Regions from separate parts of the Homo sapiens genome. Here all the other regions are linked to region 3. Evidence: promoter capture Hi-C in 16 types of primary human blood cells and fetal thymus (Javierre and others, 2016). All regions are on one chromosome and are shown on one strand. The core of a region is centred on a gene start or on the middle of the fragment in contact, and the rest is flanking DNA. Distances in the headings are between cores, read along the strand shown. Region 1 overlaps ZNF106 (zinc finger protein 106). Region 2 overlaps ZNF106 (zinc finger protein 106). Region 3 holds the start of PLA2G4F (phospholipase A2 group IVF). Region 4 overlaps ZNF106 (zinc finger protein 106). Region 5 overlaps ZNF106 (zinc finger protein 106).

Evidence for each region. The method cuts DNA at HindIII sites, captures the fragments that hold promoters and counts their contacts. A CHiCAGO score of 5 or more calls a contact.
Region 1: a fragment that was not itself captured here is called in contact with the fragment with the promoter of PLA2G4F in region 3 in 2 of 17 cell types (megakaryocytes and endothelial precursors); the score reaches 6.3 in megakaryocytes.
Region 2: a contact is called between a fragment that was not itself captured here and the fragment with the promoter of PLA2G4F in region 3, in 1 of 17 cell types (endothelial precursors). The highest score is 5.8, in endothelial precursors.
Region 4: a contact is called between a fragment that was not itself captured here and the fragment with the promoter of PLA2G4F in region 3, in 1 of 17 cell types (endothelial precursors). The highest score is 5.2, in endothelial precursors.
Region 5: a fragment that was not itself captured here is called in contact with the fragment with the promoter of PLA2G4F in region 3 in 2 of 17 cell types (endothelial precursors and megakaryocytes); the score reaches 5.9 in endothelial precursors.

The regions. Positions count from the first base shown.
Region 1 is chr15:42,453,488-42,456,187 of GRCh38, reverse strand. The region is part of intron 4 of ZNF106 (zinc finger protein 106); the gene reads left to right. Among named protein-coding and RNA genes, the nearest start is that of ZNF106, 36 kb to the left of the region's middle. The HindIII fragment of the contact is 2,903 bases long and covers 1-2,700 here.
Region 2 is chr15:42,435,688-42,438,387 of GRCh38, reverse strand. ZNF106 (zinc finger protein 106) reads left to right here. Exons shown (of 22, transcript NM_001366845.3): 13 at 1,011-1,156. Among named protein-coding and RNA genes, the nearest start is that of ZNF106, 54 kb to the left of the region's middle. The HindIII fragment of the contact is 746 bases long and covers 1,059-1,804 here.
Region 3 is chr15:42,155,360-42,158,059 of GRCh38, reverse strand. PLA2G4F (phospholipase A2 group IVF) reads left to right here and starts at 1,424. Exons shown (of 20, transcript NM_213600.4): 1 at 1,424-1,621; 2 at 2,471-2,543. The coding sequence starts at 1,511. RefSeq lists an enhancer at 984-1,699. The HindIII fragment of the contact is 5,494 bases long and covers 1-2,700 here.
Region 4 is chr15:42,413,886-42,416,616 of GRCh38, reverse strand. ZNF106 (zinc finger protein 106) reads left to right here. Exons shown (of 22, transcript NM_001366845.3): 22 at 1-2,731. Among named protein-coding and RNA genes, the nearest start is that of CAPN3, 56 kb to the right of the region's middle. The HindIII fragment of the contact is 759 bases long and covers 935-1,693 here.
Region 5 is chr15:42,472,905-42,475,604 of GRCh38, reverse strand. The region is part of intron 1 of ZNF106 (zinc finger protein 106); the gene reads left to right. Among named protein-coding and RNA genes, the nearest start is that of ZNF106, 17 kb to the left of the region's middle. The HindIII fragment of the contact is 4,164 bases long and covers 1-2,700 here.

The sequences.
Region 1 (2,700 bases), core at 104-2,603, 300 kb before region 3:
TAGGAAAATATTTTTTGACTGGTGTGAATTAACGTGTTGCTTCTGCCAAATTTGATTTATCTTTTTGTCTTTGAATCCCCAGTGACTACCACAGTGCTTTCTTGAATAAATTTTTTTTGATAAGTGTCAAGATAATTTAAGCAATATAAATTTTCTAATTTGTACTGCATAATTTCATACCTACATTTATACATTCAGGTATTAGGCATTTATGTTTTTACCTTACTGCTTTCTGGTCTAAAGAGTTTAATTATAAAATTTGTTAAAAAGAGTTTAATTAATGAGGTAGAAATTTTCAATGTGAGGGAAAGAGAGAGAGAAGCACTTATGAGGTGGGATAATTTTTTAAGTCCCAGAACATGAAGAGAATCATTTCAGATTCTAAAATAAAAATTTAAAGATTCTTCTTTGAATACTAGTTATACCCCGTCTGTACCTCCTTTTTAGTCAGAGGCTTAACTATAAAAAGGAAGTTGTTTTTACTCTATATGTTAAAAGTTTTTTTGCCGGGAGGAACGGTGGCTCAGGCCTATTGTCCTGGTGCATGAGGAGACGAGGCCAGGGCTTTAAGACCAGCCTGGGCAACATAGGAAGCCCTTATCTATGTAATAACAACAACAAAAAATTAAAATTAAAAAAAAGTTTTTTGAACAATTCCTTGAAGGAGACTTTCTTCATCTTAAAATATCAGTAAAGGGTGAGCATCCCTAATCCAAAGTCTGAAAATGCACCAAAATCCAAAACATTTGAGTGCCAACATGAGGCCACCAGTGGAAAATTCCACACCTCATTTCATTTTACAAAATTATTCAAAATATTACCTAAAATTATCATCAGACTGTGTATAAAAGGTGTATATGAAACATAAATGAATTTTATGTTTAGACTTGGGTCCCATTCCCGTAATATCCCATTATGTATATGCAAAAATATTCCAAAATCCAAAGCAGTTTGAAATGCAAAACCTTTCTGGTCCCAAGCATTTCAGATACGGGACACTCAAACCACATGGTTCTTAAATCATTTAGTAGCTTAGTCCTTCAAATGACATTTTCATTACTTTTAATATAGTTGCAGTTTACTTTATCCTGCTTTAGGCAGTTGGAGCCTCTGGGAGACTTCTATTTTGTTCTTACATACTAGTGCCATTATTAGCTTTATCTGTGTAAATAATTAAACATTAAGTCAGAATAGATTAGACATTTGTATCATAGTTACTATTTTTTGAGTCTTTTGATGTGCCTCCTTGATGACCTATTTATAAAATCATCTACTTCTTTTTTTTTTTTGAGACAGGGTGTCGGTCTGTCACCCAGGCTTGAGTGCAGTGGCACGATGACACCTCACTGCAGCCTCAACTTCCTAGGCTCCAACAGTCCTCCCACCTCAACCTCCCGAGAAGCTGGAACTACAGGCATGCATCGCCACCATGCGTGGCTAATTTTTTTTTTTTTATTTTTATTTTTGGTAGAGATGGGGTTTAGCCATGTCACCCAGGCTGGCCTCGAACTTCTGGGCTCAAGTGATCCACCCACCTTGGCCTCCCAAAGTGCTGAGATTACAGGCATGAGCCACCACACCTGGACAAAATCATCTACTTCTTCAGGAGTATTTTTTTTTTTCTTTTTTCCTTCATGAATTTTTAACTTAGATTATTCTTTCTGGTCTATGGGTTTAGCTGAATGCTCCTATCTTCTGAATCTAGCCAATTCATGATGATCTAGGAATTCTACTTTGTGATTTATTTATCCCCCAGTTCTCCCATTTCTGATCATATCAGTATAGCTGAGTCAGTGGTCTCCTTGGATGCCAGAAGTTGCATATTGCATAGAATCAAAAGATAAAGGCAATTTGGTTAATGGTTATAAAAAAATTCTGCTACTGCATGTAATAATACTTGTTACTTTCTAAAGAGTCTCCTGTTTAGAAATGATTGTAATTTATATAATATGAGTGGATGTTTGAACTTCTAAATAGACTTTTAAATTCCGTCTTGTGAAAAAGGAAGAAGTTCCAATTTGTGTCCAAAATATCATAGACATTGAAAGCCTTTAAAGCCAATTAAAGTCAGTATTGAGTTTAAGATTTTTAAGTCAAGGTCAGAGGAAGGAACTTAAATGTGGAAACTTTGTTTTGAGATGTTGATTCTCTGAAGGCCTGTGGTTAAGAGTATAGACTCTGGCTGGAGTCAGATTGCCAAGGATTAAATCTCTGCTCTACTGCTTTCTGGCTATCTTATTCTAGGCAAGTTATGTATTCTCTCTACTGCTCAATTTCTCATCTATAAAGTAGGAATAATAAGAATACATGCCATGCCTGTAATCCCAGCACTTTGGGAGGCTGAGGTGGGCGGATCACGAGGTCAGGAGTTCAAGACCAGCCTGGCCAACATGGTGGAACCCCGTCTCTACTAAAAATACAAAAATTAGCCAGGCGTGGTGGCGGGAGCCTGTAATCCCAGCTACTCAGGAGGCTGAGGCAGGAGAATCGCTTGAACTCGAGAGGCAGAGGTTGCAGTGAGCCAAGATCGTGCCATTGCACTCCAGCCTGGGCGACAAAGCGAGACTCCATCTCCAAAAAAAAAAAAAAAATACTTGCCTCAGGATTATAAAAACTAAGTGAGATAATCTATATAAGGTGCTTAGCATTAAATGCCTGACACTCAGGTACTCAGTAAATTTTAGCTAGCAGTACTCAGTA
Region 2 (2,700 bases), core at 182-2,681, 280 kb before region 3:
ACAGAGTCTTGCTCTGTCACCTGGGCTGGAGTGCAGTGGCGCTATCTCTACTCACTGCAACTTCCACCTCCCAGGTTCAAGCAGTTCTCCTGCCTCAGCCTCCCAAATAGCTGGGACCACAGGTGCGCGCCATCACGCCTGGCAAATTTTTTTTTGTATTTTTAGTAGAGACAGGGTTTCGTCATGTTGGCCAGGCTGGTCTCGAACTCCTGGCCTCAAGTGATCCTCCTGCCTTGTCCTCCCAAAGTGCTGGGACTACAGGCGTGAGCCACCATGCCTGGCCTTTCTCATCTGTCTTATCCGGCTCCCTTATCTGTTCAACTAATTAGTATTAAGGTTTCATTGGCTCTAAGGATATTTGCTTTCAGAAGGAACTGCTTAAGGAATACTACATTACTCAAAGAAATAACTTTTTGGAAGTGTGGGAGAGATTGGATACCTTCCAAGTATCACTCAAAGCTCTTTTTCTTTTTTTTTTTTTTTTTGAGACGGAGTCGTTGTCGCCCAGGCTGGAGTCCAGTGGTGTGATCTTGGCTCACTGCAACCTCTGCCTCTGGGTTCAAGTGATTCTCTTGCCTCAGCCTCCCCAAATAACTGGGACTACAGGCTCACGCTACCACACCTGGCTAATGTTTGTATTTTTAGTAGAGATGGGGTTTCACCATGTTGGCTAGGCTGGTCTCCAACTCCTGACCTCAGGTGATCCGTCCATTTTGGCCTCCCAAAGTGCTGGGATTACAGGTGTGAGTCACCACGCCTGGCCCAAAAGCTCATTATATAATTATCTATCTTTTTCCTAAGTGAAAGGCCTTCTCTGCCTTTGCTTATCATGCAGTCTTCATAGTGAAGATGGGTATTGAAAATTGTAGTAGTCTGATAGGGGAACTAAGATTTAAGGGATCTACTTTTGGTTTAATCTAGGGACTACTGTATTGTATAATAGTTCTGATTTTTGAGTATCTTTTCAGACTCTAGCAGACATGTCTCTGAAACCTATTCTTGTTTTCCAGAAATATCTTCAGAGCCAGGAGATGATGATGAACCCACAGAAGGAAGCTTTGAGGGACACCAAGCTGCCGTAAATGCAATTCAGATATTTGGGAACTTGCTATATACCTGTTCAGCAGATAAAACTGTTCGGGTTTATAATCTGGTGGTAAGTTGATAGAACATGTAGAATGTTTTTGGTTGCAGGTTTTGGAAAATCCAGTTTATACTTTTTTAAACAATAAAGGGAATTTGTTGGCTGTCTGAAGGAAGGGGTGGGCCTGAGATTGACTTTAGATGCATTTAATCCAGAAGCTCAGCAAGGTCACTGGGGACTTAATTTCTTTTTGTCTCCCTACTCTGCCTTCTCTGGTATCACCTCTTCCTGAAAGCTAGTTCCCCTCCTGCTTACAGGGTAAATGTCAGGAGCCACTGGAGTCTCTTTTTCCCTCCCACCAGCACAGAAGGGTCCTGTGTTTTACTCCCTGAACGATCACCTTTGCCTGTGGCAAAGGGGGTTGGGATTACACCAGTGGTCTTGGACTGTTCAGGTCCCAATGCTGGAGTTGGTAATGGGGTCACTTGCATAGCAGCTACATAATAGAGGAGGGATGAAGTGAATATGGGGAAGTACTGGAGGAGGTATTTTCCCTGACAAGTGATTGATTACAGAGTTCAAGTTATTAAGGAGAGCAACACTTTTCCACTGCCTCACACTTAGTATTATCTGATGCTTATTACTCTCAAAAGAATGAACTTTTGAGTTTTGAATTTGAATTTGTTAATAAACTAATTATGTTTATGAACAATGAAAGCTTAAGAAATTTGAAGAACATGATGTCTGAATGAATACCATGAAAATATTTAAAATTGCTAGAGTCAGTGAAAATTAAAAAGTTAGATGATGGACCAGGAAAATGTGTTTGCTATATAGGCAACAGGTGTGTAGATTCCTTTAGCTTAATGATATGAGGATTAACACGAATGACTGAAAAAAGGAAGCAGTGCTACCAGGATGTATAAGTGTAAGATCTAGGGGAACAGGATATCAAAATATGTATGTGTATGTATATATGTACATTCTAAATAGATCTCAGTATGTGCACTGAGATAACATTTGGAATGTACCCATAAGAAACACCACCAGTGGCCGGGCACAGTGGCTCACACCTATAATCCCAGCAGTTTGGGAGGCCAAGGTGGGTGGATCATGAGGTCAGGAGATTGAGACCATCCTGGCTAACATGGTGAAACCCCATCTCTACTAAAAATACAAAAAATTAGCCGGGGGTGGTGGCGGGCACCTGTAGTCCCAGCTACTTGGGAGGCTGAGGCAGGAGAATGGTGTGAACCCAGGAGGCAGAGCTTGCAGTGAGCTGAGATCGCGCCACTGCACTCCAGCCTGGGGGACAGAGCGAGACTCTGTCAAAAAAAAAAAAAAAGAAACAACACCAGAACCACTAGACCTGTGATAGCACCTGACGTTTTTGAATACCATGGTGCATTCTCACAAACTGCTTATCAAATGCTCATCTTTTGTGGGAAATTAGCTGCAGTTTGGATTTGCTAGGTCCTTGGTCCATATGTCAGAAAGCTTTGCCCTAAACGTTAATTAAAATTCTGGCTGTCTTACAGTGTTGCCATAAGTATTTTCTGGTATGGCTCAACTAACATATACTTTCAGATACCTCATTGCCTGTGACTGTTTGCTAG
Region 3 (2,700 bases), core at 175-2,674:
AATCCAAATAAAGCAGAAACAGGCCCTTCTTTGGGGCCTGGTCACTGGCAGTCACACATTCCTTTTTTGGGGGGAGTTTCTGGTCTGAACTTGCCCATTCGGTTCATTTTGGAGTTGAATCACATCTTTTTTGGATGTTGTATTTTTCAGCCTGTGACTCTAGGCCTTGGGAAGAGTGGAGATGACTGAATCTTAGTTGAGGGACAGAAATTCTCTCCCTCCCACAGTTCACGGCCCCCGAGATCCTCACTCTTCCTGGAGACTGTGCCTGTCTCAGCCACCTTGATGGTTGTGGTCCACAGAAGAGCGAACATCACATCCATCTGCAGCCTAAGGCCTACGATGGCCAAAGAGAATGCTAAAGCCTGTATATCTGGTCGCTGAAGGATACGTAGACTTGTTGTTTGGCCTGTCCTTATTTATAACCCCCTGCCCATATGCCTGTCTGTACCTGGACACTGTACACTGACCCAGGAAGCGAGCCTGGGCCAAAGCCACAGGGAGTCATGAGACTGAATTTCTCCAGGATGTGGATGGGCCCGCCTCACCTCTGTCACCTTTGCGTTTCTGGGCCTAGCACAGGTCTGGCACCCACCAGGCTCTTGGTGTTTGGCGAATTAATGAGGGTGGTCAGGAGAGATTAAAAACATCTTTGATGAGTTCATGTCCTTTGTAGGGACATGGATGAAGCTGGAAACCATCATTCTGAGCAAACTATCGCAAGGACAGAAAACCAAACACCACATGTTCTCACTCATAGGTGGGAATTGAACAATGAGAACACTTAGACACAGGGCGGGGAACATCACACACCGGGGCATGTCGGGGGGCAGGGGGCATGGGGGAGGGATAGCATTAGGAGAAATACCTAATGTAAATGACGAGTTAATGGGTGCAGCACACCAATATGGCACATGTATACACATGTAACAAACCTGCACGTTGTGCACATGTACCGTAGAACTTAAAGTATAATTAGAAAATATATATAAAGAGAGAAACATCTTTGATCCCAGATGAAACACTGAAGCAGAGATTTCTAGGCTTCAGCTTAAGAGCCGCAGGGAAGGTGGGACTTGAAGGGTGGCTAGTTTCAGGCCTTTTCCACAGCTGGAGGAGACTCTTCCCTGATTTGCACTTGCCAGCTGGTCTCTGGGCCAGCTGTGCCAGCTTCACCTAGAGGTCTTGTTGGAAATAGCTCCGGTGTCTATTTTTCACAAACAGCCCAGTGATAACCAGGGCGCTGGGTTTGGGAACAAGAGTGCTAACCAGAGACCCCAAGAGTCTCTTGGAGAGGGACTGAGCTGCCTCCTGCCTGGGGAAATTAAGCTCCAGTCACTTCCTGGAGCATGTCAAACTCCACCTCCAGCAGGCCATCCAGCCTGAGTTCTCTGCAGAGCAGGCAGCTCCACCCTCCCAACTCAGTGCTGCCTGTCACACCTGAGCCAGCAGTTTGTGCAACCAGAGGAGCGCAGGCAGGGTTCCCTGCTGGGGCCCGGGCTGCCCAGCCATGCTTTGGGCACTCTGGCCAAGGTGGCTGGCAGACAAGATGCTGCCCCTCCTGGGGGCAGTGCTGCTTCAGAAGAGAGAGAAGAGGGGCCCTCTGTGGAGGCACTGGCGGGTAACGTACCTGAGATTACCTGGGAAACCCGGACTGGGGGAGTCCTGGGAGCTGCAGTGCCCTGTGAAGACTGAGACCAGCCCCAGCCCTGGGTTTTGAGTTGGGGTGGGACCTGTTTATTCTAGATGACCTGGCAGAGCTTAAATTAGACCTTGGCTCTTAAAAATAGCTCCCTCCGATTAGGAAATGGAGGGTTAGTTCACTTGACACTTGTCTGGGGTGGGTTGGCTTTCACCAAGGATGCGCGAGCCTGGCTGTAGAGTCCACGGAGCTGGTGGGGTTGTGAGGGGAGAGTTTCCCTCCCAGTAGGCAGCATGCTGATGTTATCTCTCCTAAGCCCAGCTGCAATCTGCTCGGTGACTCGTCAGACCGGTACCGGCCGGCCGGTGACTCTCGGCTTCCGCTCACCTGCTCGCTGCCTCCTAGACGGTCTTTGAGCCTCTGTCAGGGAGCAAGCAAGGGAGGGGGTGTCACAGTTTTCTCTTTTAATATTTAATCTTCTCAAGCACAACATTAGCACAGCTCTCACAGCTGCTCCCAAGCTAGAGTGGGGGCGCGAGCGTCTGAGGGGAGCTGCAGGTGTGTGGTGCGTGACAGCCATCGTTAGTTCAGTGAGTCCGTGCTGGATTTAGATTTGAACCCAGACCGGATGGGTTCCAGGGTCCAGACACATCACGAAGGTGCTGAACTCCCAATGCCTGGGACCCGCCAAGGTCTCCCTGCTCCCCGGCACAGAGACGTCAGTGACCCTATGCCAGGTTGCTGCTCCATGATGGGACGAGGGGAACAATGGGGCGAGGGACCAGGCTCACACTAGCTGACTGAGTCCCTGGAGTTCTGTTATTGCAGCGGGAAACCTACCCATACTATGACCTCCAGGTGAAGGTGCTGAGGGCCACAAACATCCGGGGCACAGACCTGCGTGAGTGACCCCATCTCCATCCTTCTCTCTGTCCTTTCCCTGCGGCTTCCTCAGAGCTCAGCTCAGGCTGGCTAACAGAGAGTGTGTGTGTGTAAGAGTATACATGGGTGAGTACAAGTGAGAGTGCATGTGTGTATACATGTGTGAGTATACGTGT
Region 4 (2,731 bases), core at 65-2,564, 260 kb before region 3:
CTCTGTAAATGTGGATAGAAAGCTCAGTGTGAGGCAGTGCGTAGACCTAACGTCTACCTTTACATCTGCTGTTGAACCTGGGCACTACCTGTTACAGATCCTGTCAGGCTGTTGAACTGGAGGTGTACCTTTATCTTCCTTTCTAGTGTCTGACCCTGCAAGCCTAATGTTGGTTTGAACCCTTTTGGTTTGTTCAGTTGCCAGCCTCCATCTCTCCCACTGTATGGCCGTGCCTAGACCGATGGCAGCCATCGAATATTCCTCTGGGCTCACGGGGTGTTTTCCACCCCCCTGCAGCAACTAAGATGGTGGGGGAGAGGGGGTTAGAATAAAGCATCTGAATACAGTTTTCAGGACCTCAAGCAGACTTCCTAGAGACTTGTTTCTGAGACAGTTCTTTGCCTTCACTTCCCTGCTAGCTGGGAAAGAAGAGTGGAGCAGAGACTCTGCCTGGCCACTGAGAACAGCCAAATTCACAAACCCTCAGTGGGGCTTTGTTTTTGGATTTTCTCCGGACTCATCAGTAAACCTGTAGAAGTGTCGCTTTCCAGCCTTTTGTTTCTGGATCCTCAAAACTCAGAACGTGGCCGGGCGTGGTGGCTCACGCCTGTAATCCCAGCACTTTGGGAGGCTGAGGCAGGCAGATCACCTGAGGCTAGGAGTTGCAGACCAGCCTGGCCAACATGGCAAAACCCCGTCTCTACTAAAAATACAAAAAGCCGGGCGTGGTGGGCGCCTGTAATCCCAGCTGCTCAGGAGGCTGAGGCAGGAGAATCGCTTGAACCCGGGAGGCAGAGATTGCAGTAAGCTGAGATCGTGCCACTGCACTCCAGCCTGGTGACAGAGTGAGACTCCGTCTCAAAAAAAAAAAAAAAAACTCAGCTTCTTCAGAGAGATAAAATTGGGGGAGGAGCCCAGGGCCACATACCAAGCTTTGGGACATGGTGCCTCATGCTCTCTGGGATTGCAGACCATCCAGGTCTGTCTTCGCCCCTGTTAGTGCACATATATCCACTCACATGTCTTCCCTCAGGCTATCGGGCAGGGGGACTTCACCAGGGGGTTTATGGATAGGCTTCAAGAGGGTCTGTGAGCCCCCAGAAATTGTGTGTGAGACTGAGTATGTGTTCTTTTTTCCAGGAAAGGCTCCAGTGGTTCTTACTTGATCCAAAAAATGTCAAGAATTAATCTAGGAGGCCGGGCCTGGTGGCTCACACCTGTAATCCCAGCTCTTTGGGAGGCCGAGGCGGGTGGATCACTCAAGGTCAGGCATTTGAGACCAGCCTGGCCAACATAGTGAAACCCCGTCTCTATTAAAAATACAAAAATTAGCTGGGTGTGGTGGTATGTGCCTGTAGTCTCAGCTACTCAGGAGGCTGAGACAGGAGAATCACTTGAACCCTGGAGGTAGAAGTTGCAGTGAGCCAAGATCATACTACTGCACTCCAGCCTGGGCGACAAGAGTGAAACTCCACCTCAAAAAAAAAAAAAAAAGAGTTAATCTAGGAGATAATGAATGGCCTAGTACTAGATAATATATGGCCCCACAAGCTCTTGACTTCTGTCCTTGGGGAAAGCCATTTTGTTAACCACACTAGTGAGATTTACATGATGCTTAATGGAGAACAGAGAAGATCTTGTTGCAAAAGGTGTATTAAATATTTGTGCTGTTTCTGTATGAGATTGAGAAGCTTTTCCCACCTCTCACCCCTATTTCCTATAAGGATATCCAGAGAAGCCAAACTGTTCTGTGGGTTTGGGAATGGTCATTTCCCGGGAAAATGCATCTGGATCGATGACTAAACCTGGCCCTTTTCTCTGGGCTGTAGTGAAGCCGCATTTTCACGCTGGCTGGCAGTGTGCTGAGAGCCTCGAATGCTCTGCGGCGTAGTGCCCTTCTGCCCTGCCTGACGATGTATCGAAAAGATGAGAGTGAAGGAGACTTTGTGCAGCAGGAAACGGGTAGGTGAGGTGTTGGGCAGTTGTGGGAACTTCTGAGAGTATTACAGAGTGGTAGAATCGGTAAGAACTCTGATTTGGACTTCGCTTTGGTGGAACTGTGTGCCTATACCTGCCTGTGTGTGTGCAAGTGTGCAGGTTCCTTTGTATGTATGTGTACGTGTGGGAACCTGTGTTTGTCATATTTTTCTTCATTTCACAAAGGCTTTTTTTGAAGCAGTGGCAGTATGCCTTTGTTTCAAGAACACATGAAATTCTTTTAACACCAGATTAGTGTGTTACCCCAAATGAACGGTTCTAGCCCTCTATTAAGAAATAAAGGGACCATAAGCATTTTGGCTGCTTATGGCTGTGTGTTACTACTTACAAGAGTCTTGAAAATTATACAGAACTTTGCCTTCTTTTTTTAATGTCTTCCACAATGTTGTGACTGATTATAACCCTGTTTCCCCTCAGAGAAGAGCTATGGCTCAGGGATCTGTGTTGACTCTGGCATTTAGTGGCTTTGTGAAGGAAAGAAACCATTAAATGACCTGACAAAAACTGACTCATGTCTTTAAAGTAGTTGAAGCCACTTTTAGAATGTTACTCTCGGTTGCTTTTGTCTAATTCTAATGGCTTAAAGCCAAGAAAACCATAGTATAAATCTTTTTGTGTACCTATGCTAGTGTTTAAATGGCAGTTCGTTGTGATAAAGTATCAGTCACTTCAAGTTTTCTGTGAAAGTTTTTAATTAGGTTAAAAATAATTTTGGCATACGTCTCTACTCAGT
Region 5 (2,700 bases), core at 148-2,647, 320 kb before region 3:
GATTATTAGTAATATGGAAAGTATAAATAATACTGTACCTATCCACAAAGGTATATTTCTTTGTTTTGGTAGCTAATTGACATTCAGCTTTCTTAAATGTCCATATTTTTACCCGATAATCTTACTTTAGTGTTTTGAATTTTATTTTTTATTTTTATTTTTTGAGACAGAGTCTCGCTGTGTCGCCCAGGCTAGAGTGCAGGGGCGTCATCTCGGCTCACTGCAACCTCTGCCTCCTGGGTTCAAGCGATTCTCCTGCCTCAGCCTCCCGAGTAGCTGGGATTACAGGCACGTGCCACCATACCCAGCTAATTTTTGTATTTTTAATAGAGACATGTTGGCCAGGCTGGTCTTGAACTCCTGACCTCAAGTTATCCACCCACCTCGGCCTCCCAAAGTGCTGGGATTATAGGCATGAGCCACCATGCCTGGCCTGAACTTTATTATTGAATAAAATTATTTAGGCATTCAGTAATATTATGAAGTGGGTTGCATGGCAAGAAAACTGCCGAGTAATCACAGGAGTGGAGAACCTTAGGCCTCTTTCATTGGTCCTTCTGCCATATTATCTAGGAGTTACAGATTAAACTGTGGTAGTTTGTAACCTCATTATGTCACAGTTTTAAAATCTCCTAAGGAATGTACCCCAAATGAGGAAGCAGATCTATTAGAGCCTGATGTTTTCTGTAGAAGAAGGAACAATGCTGCTTGGGGAGTAGATTTAAAATTTCATATAGAGCATCTCTAGCAGGGACTTGAGGAAAGTGTGCTAGTGCCAGAGGATTATGAAAGAGTAAACCATTGTTGAGTCTTAATCTAAACCCCTGGTATTTTCTTTCTTTCTTTCTTTCTTTTTATAGAGAGCCTTACTCTTACCCAGGGTGGAAGTACAGTGGCACAATCATAGCTCATTATAACCTCAAACTCCTGGGCTCAAGGAATCCTCCTTGCTGTGCCTCCCAAGTAGCTGGGATTACAGGCATGAGCCATAGTACCCAGCTAATTCTTTCATTTTTTGTAGAGACACTATGTTGCCCAGACTGGTGTTGAACTCCTGTCCTCAAGTGATCCTATCACCTCAGCCTCCCAAGGTGCTGTGATTACAGCTGTGAGCCACTGTGCCTGGCCTCAAACCCTGCTATTTACTCAGCTCAGTTACTAAACTCACATTTAGTAACCCAAGATGGATAGTTCCATTTGGAATAATCAACAAATACTTTTGAATTCCTTATGATATGTCATACACTGTTCTAAGTGCTAGACCGAACTATACTAGTGAACAAAATATGCAAAGTCCTTTTTCTCACGGAATTTAAATTTTAATTGGCAGAGACAGAGAATAACAAATACATACTATGTCAGGTAGTAAAAGATAATGTTCCAGATGTCACTTGTTCATAAACTATTCCAAAATTTCCTGGCTTAAAACAACTCTTGTATTGTGTCTCACAATTCTCTGGGTTGAAGAGGGCTTATCTGGATGGTGTATGTATTGGTCTCACTTGGGGGTCTCTCATTGGTGGCTGGACCTGGAGCCCCCAAGATGGCTCACGCTTCTGGCTGTCAGTTGGTCCTGCTTGTTGTTTGGGTACTCAGTGGGGGCCTCAGTTCTTTTTTTACCTGGCCTTTCCCTGTGGCTTTGGCTTCTCACAGCACGGTGGCTGGCTTTCAAGAGGGAGTGTAACAAGTGGGCAGAGGCAGAAGGTACAGATTTCTGAAAGCCCAGCCTCTTAAGTTATACAGCATCACTTCTGCCACATTTTATTGATCAAAATAGTTCACAGGGAGGGGAAACAGACTCCATCCACCTTTTCATGGATGGTGGCAAGATCACATTGCAAAAGAGCACATGGGGTAGCAGATATTGTTGAGGCCTTCTATGGAAACATGATCTACCACAGTGCTATAAAAAATTAAGCAGGTTAATAGGGGAATAGAGAAACTGGAACTATGTGGAGAGGTGGGGTGTCAGAAAGTGCAATATTATGTAGAGGGTTAGGCAGGGCCTCTCCCATAAGGCAATATTTTAGATACCTGATGGAAATGAATGAGCCACGGGAACCATAAGGACTTTTTAAGGAAGAATATTCCAGGCAGAGAACAGAAAATGTAGAGGTGCAAAGGTGGGAGGATCTGTGATGTGAACAAAGAATAGCAACGAGGGGAATGCAAGTGCACCAGAATGATAGAGGAAGAACGGGAGGGCATGCGAATGATTCGGAGAGGAAGAGAGAAACAGATATTGTAGCCATGGCAAAGACTAGGTTTTCTGTGAGTGAGATGGACGCCATTGGGAAATTCTGAGCAGAGGAATTACATACAGGTTGAGTTCCTTTATCCGAAATGCTTGGGACCAAAAGTGTTGTGGAGTTCAGATTTTTTCGGATCTTGGAATATTTGCGTACTTACTGGCTGAACATCCCAAATCGGAACATTCCAAATCTAAACTGCTCCAGCGGGCATTTCCTTTGAGCATCATGTTGACACCCAAAAAGTTTCCGGTTTTGGATCATTTCAGATTTCAGATTTCAGATTTTTAGATTTGGAATTTTCAACCTGTATATGTTCTAACTTAAACTTGTTTTTTTTTTTTTTTTCAAAGTTGGAGTCTTGCTCTGTCGCCCAGGCTGGAGTGCCGTGGTGCAATCTCAGCTCACTGCAACCTCCGCTCTTGGGTTCAAGCAATTCTGCCTTAGCCTC